3 separate regions of the Homo sapiens genome follow, and all the other regions are linked to region 1. Evidence: promoter capture Hi-C in 16 types of primary human blood cells and fetal thymus (Javierre and others, 2016). All regions are on one chromosome and are shown on one strand. Each heading gives the region's core, a stretch centred on a gene start or on the middle of the fragment in contact. The rest is flanking DNA. Distances are from core to core; before and after follow the strand shown.

The links. The method cuts DNA at HindIII sites, captures the fragments that hold promoters and counts their contacts. A CHiCAGO score of 5 or more calls a contact.
Region 2: a contact is called between a fragment that was not itself captured here and the fragment with the promoter of ZNRF4 in region 1, in 4 of 17 cell types (naive CD4 T cells, naive CD8 T cells, total CD8 T cells and 1 more). The highest score is 6.7, in naive CD4 T cells.
Region 3: a fragment that was not itself captured here is called in contact with the fragment with the promoter of ZNRF4 in region 1 in 1 of 17 cell types (M0 macrophages); the score reaches 5.2 in M0 macrophages.

What each region holds. Positions count from the first base shown.
Region 1 is chr19:5,453,938-5,456,786 of GRCh38, forward strand. ZNRF4 (zinc and ring finger 4) reads left to right here and starts at 1,480. Exons shown (of 1, transcript NM_181710.4): 1 at 1,480-2,849. The coding sequence starts at 1,555. The coding sequence ends at 2,844. The HindIII fragment of the contact is 7,810 bases long and covers 1,343-2,849 here.
Region 2 is chr19:5,046,734-5,049,582 of GRCh38, forward strand. KDM4B (lysine demethylase 4B) reads left to right here. Exons shown (of 23, transcript NM_015015.3): 6 at 743-936. Among named protein-coding and RNA genes, the nearest start is that of KDM4B, 79 kb to the left of the region's middle. RefSeq lists enhancers at 1-684, 2,178-2,780. The HindIII fragment of the contact is 3,979 bases long and covers 1-2,849 here.
Region 3 is chr19:5,112,485-5,115,333 of GRCh38, forward strand. All of the region lies in intron 10 of KDM4B (lysine demethylase 4B), which reads left to right. Among named protein-coding and RNA genes, the nearest start is that of PTPRS-AS1, 64 kb to the right of the region's middle. RefSeq lists enhancers at 1,683-2,638, 2,639-2,849. The HindIII fragment of the contact is 4,202 bases long and covers 1-2,849 here.

The DNA.
Region 1 (2,849 bases), core at 230-2,729:
GGGGCCCACCCACTACATGGTACAAGAGATTTGTGTGGGAGGTGATCTCAGAAGCTGTGGGAGGGGAGAGAAGTGGGTGGGGAAGGGAAGGAGACAGTAGCGGGCTCATTGACAAGACAGTACTGGGTTCGTTGACTTATGGAGCTCATTCGACTGGGGACCTCTAGGAGATATGGTAGAACATACTTCGATTTGTCCCATAAGAGGGACGAGGGAGTGGGGGCATTTATCTACCACCTCCCATCTGTCACTGGCTGAGGGCTGCTCTGAGAGGTATTAGGCCAACACAGAAAATCTAAAGACTAAGTAGTCAGCCTGGCAAAGTGAAGTTGAGGAGCAAGAATTCTGTTCCAGGCAGAGGGAACAGCATTTGCAAAATTCTAGAGGTGAACAAAGCAAGATGCCTCTGGGACATTGCAAATCATCCAGGCTTCAGAGATTGGCAGGCGCCCAACCACAGGGGTGCATGTAGGCCACAGAGAAGAGTGTGGGCTTTATCTGGAGGGCAATGGGGAGCCATGGGAGAGTTTAGAGCATGGGAAAGACTATGTTACAGGTCTGGAAGCTGAGGCCCAGAGAGGCTAAGGAATTTAGCTGATGTCATACAGCTTATGAATGGCAGAGACAGAAATCCGACTTGAGTGGGCTGCAGACAGATTGAGGGTGTGAAATTTGGGGGATGGGGACTGGGGAGGAGGTGAGGCTGATGCCCAGGGCTGAAGCTCAGGCAGGGGGCACAGTTGGAGACCCAGCTGGAGAGGCAATGCTATAGGGAGAGAGAATGAAGCTGGTGCAAGCCTGGAGGCCAACCTGGCGGTGCGGACTTGGGACCACTGACCCCCACCAGCCCCACCCTGACCCTGGCACTTGACTCTCCCTCCAAATCAAGTCCAGGAGGGCTCTGAGGATATATGGACTCAGACCTGAGTCCGGATAAAAGAGCCAGCTACGGAGAGAAAGGGCTTTCCAGGCAGGAGGCCCAGCCCATGCAAAGGCCCTGGGGCAGGATCCTGCCTGGTGTGTTGGAGGAACAGCAAGGAGATCTGTGTGGCTGGAGCAGAGTGAGGGATGGTGACAGGGGGTCAGGAATTTGGGTTTTAAGCACTGATCTCATTGTAGGGGGGCGTGGCTTGAACAAGTCTGGGTCACTCTTGGAGTCTCAGACAAGGGTAACATTGAACCTTCTACAGTGTGTTGCTAGGAACCTCCAGAAGCTGATGCTGGTAGCGTCTTCGCACAGTGAGGGCTGAATCTGCACTGCTGGGGGCCGGCAGCCCTTTTGAAGCATCCCTGGGCCTCCTTGGGTCCAAAGATACCCTGAGCCTTCAAGAAGTTATCTCAAAGCTTGCCCGGGTACCGGCAAATCACAGACCTAGGAATGATCCATTGGCCACAGGCCCAGGCAGCTGGCAGCTCCTGGGACAGAATGTAGCAGGGCGATGTCACAGAAGCTGGGGGCATCTAGAACCCTGGTGACTCCTGGTCTCCATGTCATCTGCCAGAAAGGCCACCTGCGCCAGCACCTCCTGAGACCGGCCTTCAAAGACACGACGCATGCCGCTCTGCCGTCCGGAGCACTTAATGCCTAGAGCCAGCAGGGTCCCAGTGGCCGCGTCACTGCCTCTGAGCCACGCGGTCATTCCAACTCAACTGCCCTCGCGTCCTGGCCACAGGCCCCCTGGGAGACCCCGGAGATGCCCAAAGGCCTCATGCCTGCCGCCTCCAGTGGGACCTAGCAGCACACAGACAGCGAAGCGGGTGACCATGGGGTGGCCACGGCCGGGCCGAGCCCTCGTGGCAGTCAAAGCCTTGCTGGTCTTGTCGCTGCTCCAGGTGCCCGCGCAGGCAGTGGTACGGGCCGTGCTGGAAGACAACTCGAGCTCGGTGGACTTTGCGGATCTGCCGGCGCTGTTCGGCGTCCCCCTGGCCCCCGAGGGCATACGGGGCTACCTGATGGAGGTCAAGCCAGCCAACGCGTGCCATCCCATCGAGGCCCCGCGACTGGGCAACCGCTCTCTGGGCGCCATCGTGCTGATCCGCCGCTACGACTGCACCTTCGACCTCAAGGTGCTGAACGCCCAGCGCGCCGGCTTCGAGGCGGCCATCGTGCACAACGTCCACTCCGACGACCTCGTGAGCATGACCCACGTCTACGAGGACTTGAGGGGCCAGATCGCCATCCCCTCAGTGTTCGTGAGCGAGGCCGCCTCGCAGGACCTGCGGGTCATCCTGGGCTGCAACAAGTCGGCCCACGCGCTGCTCCTGCCCGACGACCCACCGTGCCACGACCTGGGCTGTCACCCCGTGCTGACCGTGTCCTGGGTGCTGGGCTGTACCCTGGCCCTGGTCGTATCAGCCTTCTTTGTCCTGAACCACCTGTGGCTCTGGGCCCAGGCCTGCTGCAGCCACAGACGGCCGGTGAAGACGTCTACCTGCCAGAAGGCCCAGGTCCGCACCTTCACGTGGCACAACGACCTGTGTGCCATCTGCCTGGATGAGTATGAGGAGGGCGACCAACTCAAGATCCTGCCCTGCTCCCACACCTACCACTGCAAATGCATTGACCCCTGGTTCTCCCAAGCCCCCCGGCGCTCCTGCCCCGTGTGCAAACAGTCGGTGGCCGCCACAGAAGACAGCTTTGACTCCACCACCTACAGCTTCAGGGACGAGGACCCCTCCCTACCGGGCCACCGGCCCCCCATCTGGGCCATTCAAGTCCAGCTACGCTCCCGGAGGCTGGAGCTGCTGGGCCGCGCCAGTCCCCACTGCCACTGCAGCACCACGTCCCTGGAGGCAGAGTATACCACTGTCTCCTCAGCCCCTCCTGAGGCCCCTGGTCAGTAAAGATC
Region 2 (2,849 bases), core at 222-2,721, 410 kb before region 1:
GAAGCTGTGGAAGGGCTGTCACTGGGCCTTGGCTCCGGTACCATCGCTGGGTTAGCCCCAAGTGGTGACTGTTTTTCTCCTTCCGTGTCATTGACTTAGAGGCGTGTTAATTATGCACTCCCAAACTGCAGGCTTCACAACAAGGCCTCCACCCAGCAGGAAGCACGCAGCTCAGTGGAATCTGACAGGCCCTGCCTGCCTGGTGCACGCTGGCATGTGCGATGGGGCCCTTCCTGGAAGGGCCAAGCTGGCGGTGAGCCCTTCAGAAAAGGTGTCTGGGCTGGGTATGGCGGCTCATGCCTGCAGCCCCAGCGCTTGGAGGGGCCAAAGTGGGAGGGACCATTGAGCCCAGGAGTTCGAGACCAGCCTGGGCAACAGAGTGAGACTTCATCTCTACACAGAAAAAAGTAAAAATTAGCCAGGTGTGGTTTCTCACGCCTATAGCCTATAGTCCCAGGTACTCAGGAGACTGAGGCTGGAGGATTACCTGAGCCTGGGAGGTTGAGGCTGCAGTGAGCTATGATTCTGCCACTGCACTCCAGCCTGGGCAAGAATCTCACACAGGTTAAGACCAGCCCCTGGTCTGCAGGGTATGACCGGCCCCTGGGGGGGCCGCAGATACTGGGGTGGAGGAGGATGGGCAGCGACCCCTGGGACTCTGGGGAGAATTAGCCTGCACCCCAGGGCTCGCAGGTTCTGGGGGTGGCCGGGCGGTTGCCGACGCTGCTCTGCCGCCCCACAGGACGTGGCCCAGTGGAACATCGGGAGCCTCCGGACCATCCTGGACATGGTGGAGCGCGAGTGCGGCACCATCATCGAGGGCGTGAACACGCCCTACCTGTACTTCGGCATGTGGAAGACCACCTTCGCCTGGCACACCGAGGACATGGACCTGTACAGCATCAACTACCTGCACTTTGGGGAGCCTAAGTCCTGGTGAGTGTCTGCACTGGCCCTGCCGCCGGCCGGACCGAGAGCCCCTCGGGAGGGAGTCAATCCCGGGTACACGGCTGGGCGCCGTGGCAGGGGCCCCACCAGGTGAGGCCGCAAAGGTCGGCCTATGACGGCTGGAGATCTTCCGGACCGCCTGGGGTCACCCACCAGCTTTGGGGTGGGGGATGTGCACCCCCAGAGCCGAAGCTCCCAGGCCCCTAGAGCTTGCGCTTTGTACCCCGGAGTGCCCCCCATTGAGCTGTGAGCGGCCCCAGGTGTCCCCATGGCCAGGAGCGTGGTCTTGAGCCTCCTGAGCTGCCCAGGCTGTGCTGCCTCACAGCCAAGTGGAGACGTTCCTGGTGAAGGGACACTGTCCATGCTGCCCAGAGGGGCCTGGCCAGGATGACCCTGCAGCCGCTCCCTCGCAGTCTCCGCCCTGGCACGTCTGGGCCAGGCCCTACAGTTAGGAGGGCAGGGCGTGGCGCTGCAGGCCTGTGTGCAGTGTGGTGGACCTGCCCCTGCCCGGGAGGTGCCGGGTGCAGCGTGGGCGCTGCTGTGGCGGGCTGAGTTCCAGGACCTTCTCCTGGCTCCCTGTGCACGTCGCAGCGAGGCCGTGTGGGGGTGTGTGTGAATGTGCACGTGTGCGCGCGCATGTGAGTGCGCACGTGAGTGAGTGTGAGTATGCATGCGTGTGTGTGCCCCTGTGTCACCGGGCTCTGCTTGTGACTGCGGAACCTGCTGGGTGCTCCGCGGGGCTGCCCTGCACTGTCCTCCAAGGGCCGCTAGGTGGCGCTCCCGCCCTTCCCGGGGCCGCGCTCATGCCTGGAATCTTCCCAGGCCGTCCTCGCGCTGGAGGAGGACGGAGCCTTTGCCTGGAGGGCGTGGGAGCTCCGCCTTGCCTGGCCCTTCCCTGGGTTGGAGTTGTAAGCGGGGAGAGGGGGGGGCGGGGGAGAATGCTGTACCTCTTCGTTAAAAAAAAGCACAATGAGCAGGAAGGGGCGAGCTGTGCGCATCCTCACCTGCGTCCGAAGCGCAGATGGAGCCCAAGGGAAAGGCCCTGTAGAGGACCCCGTGTGACTTGGGGCAAAGCGTGGCCTCCCAGGGGTGCGTGGGCAGCGGGACGCCCATGGTGTGACCGGGTTTGTGCCTCCATAGGGACCGTCTGCCCTGTGCAGAGAGCCCCTGTGGGGCGGGAAGTGGCGAGCAGCCGGCAAGGAGGCCCAGCCAGACAGAAGCAGGGGGGTCAGGGACATGGGAGGTGGGGGACCAGCCAGTGAGTCAGACGTGAGGACTTCAGTGCCAAGGACTGCAGTGCCAGCAGCTCGGTCTCCTGTGAGGGGCCCCGGGGGTTGCTGGCTGTCGTGGGAGCCTGGGCTGGGGGAGACCCTGGGGCTGGGGCTGCTATGGGTCAGATGCCAGGGCCGGGGGTGCCTGCTGCTAGGTCAGAGGGGCCTCTGCGGGAGGAGGCGACAGTGGCTCCCTGGAGGCGGCAGTGGGGCCCGGCCACAGGCCGTCGGAGGGACTGACAGGGATGCGCCAGGAGCCGAGGGCCTCTCCTGAGCTGGTTCATCCAGGACGCAGCCTCTGAGGGCATCCCGCACCTCTCCCCGAATGCCCCTCACTGCACCCCTCCTCTGCTTCGCCTGGTGCCGCAGGCGTCCAGCTGCCACTCCCATGTCTACCCTTCCCCATGACCCGTCGTGGGAGATGGCTCAGGGGAGACAGCTGGGGCGGGGCAGCGTTGAGTAGGCAACAGTTCTTTCGGGAAGGGAATTCCGGAAGCGCCCTGACCTTGGTCTTGGTTTTTGCCCAGGAAGGGGTGGGGATGGCAGGGGTGGGGCCTGGCATGAGGGGCCTGAGAGGAGCCACAGTGTAGGCTCTAGCTGCAGGGCATGCCCTCAACCCCCCAGAGCTCC
Region 3 (2,849 bases), core at 240-2,739, 340 kb before region 1:
CCACTGAGCACCAAGGTTGGGGGCGGCTCAGCCTTGGCCCCCCACCACGCTCTGCAGAAACAGGCCTTGGAACTGGTTTCTGAAAAGTCACTTCTGGTCCAGAACCTTCTCCTCTAAATGGGCGCCTTCTTTTTCAACACGTCCATCTGTCTGTGAGTCTGGGACTCCTGGGCGGTCTGGGCATCTGTCTCGGCCTCCTCTGTCTTCCCCACCTCGCGGCCTCTCTCGGAGAATGTTCCCTCTGCCCCGAGTGTTTTCACAGCCCCTCCTGACAGCCCTGCCAAGGTGAATCTGTCTCTTCTGCTCTTGTTCTGTCCTTTTGATTTCCTGCCTCCTGTGTGCTCCTCATGAAGAGCTGCCTCCTGGTGAGGCTACTCCAGGCGGCCCCCGCAGCACAGAGCTCGTGCACCCCAGCTCCCAGGCCCAGCCAGACGTGCTATTTGCATAATGGTTAATTGATTGTGGCTCAGGCTAATTGGTCAACAGAGTGGATTGCCAATAAACCGGCACCACGTTCCAGGAGTGGAATGGGACTAGAGGCCGTCTAAATTGCCTGCCAGGAGGAGATGCGGAAGCCGCTGCGCTCACCGCTGCTTGGAACCTTCTTTGCACGCAGGAAGTGGACCCCCCAGAACCAGCCCTTGCGTGGCCTGGCCTGGCCTCCCTGCCCCGGCCACCCCCTCACTTCTAGTCACGACCTGCTCCTCCCAGGAGCCCCCTCCCGCCCTCTCCCGCGCCGCCATCCTGGGGGCTGCCTTCACCCAGCAGCAAGCCTGAATAACAAATGAAGTCAGCTTCCCAAGGATATAATTTTCTTGAAAGCCTTCAGTATGTAAAACAAGGCTGATTCACTTTTTTTTTTTTTTTTTAAAGTCATTGGGGGTGCTTTTCTCTGGAGAGGCAGATGGGTGACTCACGTTCCAAAGCCCAAGCTGCCCCTCCCTCCACCAGGGAGGTGGTCGGTTCCCCCCTGAGCAGTGCCCTCTCCACGTGGCCTGCCTTTTCCCCTGAGCCAGGCTCCCTCCCTGAGGGCATATCTTGGGGCCAGGGCAGCCCTGTCTGAGCATCTGTGGCTCAGGCTGGATCGGGAGACACAGTGGACTGGCTCTGTCTCCCAGACAAGGGGCTTGTGGACACAGGCGGGATCCTTCTCTGGTTGGGGGAGCATCCTGGGCCCTGCAGGGTAATGAGCAGTATCCCTGGCCTCCACCCACTCCATGCCAGGAGTGCCCCAAGTCGTGACAACCACAGATGTCCCTAGACATCGCCCAGTCCCCCGCGTGGGAACCCCTGCCCTAGACCAAGGGATGGCATCAGGGTGGGCGCCATGCCCTCACCCCCGTGCAGTCCAGCCTTCCCTGCCCTCGGCGTGGCTGTGGGATGGCCCTCATGTGTTTACCAGGTGCCCCATGGGGTGCGGATGGTTCGGCACAGCTGCCTGAGCTCAGAGGACACGGCCTACTCCCTGCTCGCCACCTTACATGGGTCTCTTCCAGAACTAAATCTCGTTGAGCGAGCGTTGGGGGCTGTTTGTATTCTTCCCCCTGATGGATGGGTCGCCTAAAACTGCAGCCTGGCTCCTGGCGGGTGCCCTCAGCCTCCCCACTCCCGGTGGCGCTGTGCGTTCTGGTGCCCTGCCTGAGCCGGAGCCCTCACAGTGCTCTCTGGCACCCACGCGACGCTCCTCCATGCAAACTCTTTCCACGCGAGAAGCGCCATGTGCACGTGCTCCAGCAGGTACGCGCTCCCTGCAGGACATCTGTGCACCCGCCTCACCACAGCCTCCCTGGCCCACTGCTGCTCTGTGAGCCCGGCTGGGCCCAGGCCTCGTCTCCCCTACCCCTCCGAGCTCGGTGCTGCCTGTCCCCTCCTGCTCTGCCTTGGCCTGTCGCCCCTGCGCCAGTGCAGGACACCGCCACGCCTCTGGCCCCGACTCCTGCCAGGGCTGCCACGGCTGCCACACCCCAGCTGCATTCCTGAGCCCTCCCCACCAACAGGGACCTCAGCCCTCAGGGACAGAACCTCACGAGCACAGGGACCTGCCAGCCCCTGCAGGGAGTGCGCAGCCTCAGGGACTCACTTGCTGTCTCCTGTCTCTTTCCTAGAGCTGCCCTTCATTTTCTCAAAGGTGAAATTCCTCAGCACAGGGTCTAGTCTTGGGGGTGGGGAGCACTGGGCCACTTTGGGTCGGGGGTGGGCGGCTCTGAGGGCTCAGCCTGGGGCCAGCCTCCCAGTCCTCCCCACCTTGTGAGAAGCCCTGAGCCAGCGCGGCACTGAATGCTGATGGTCCCACTCTGGGTGCTGCAGGTGCCCTGTGTTACTGGGTGACAGGGCCAGAGGCCGTCCACCCCGCCTCCTGCCATACAAGCTGCAAAGGACACCTGCTTCCACCTTGGAAATATTAGTGCAGTTATCTGGACTATGTCCCGACATTTGGCTCATAGGAATGAGCCCAGCGGCGTCCAGTTAAGCCTGGCAGGCTAAGTGCTTATTTATCTCCACTCTCTCCTGAAACGCCACTGAAACACCAGAGAGTGAAGTGCAGAGAACGGGAGAGGGGGCAGTGGCAGCTGAGCACGTCTCCAGGCTTTGAAAAGCAGGGAAGGGTGGGCAGGAGACCCCATGGGCCGGCAACCAGGAGGACAGCCAGCAGGGAGCAGCTGGGCTGCACCATGGGGCCACAGAAAGACACAGTGGGCAGACATGGGCAGCTCCTGGAGGGCTGCAGGGGGAATGTACCACGGGGCCTCAGAAAGACACAGCGGGCAAACATGGGCAGCCCCTGGGGGTGCTGGGGGGATGTGGGGGCAACCAGCAGAAGACAGTGGGTGGCTCTGGGCAGAAGGGAG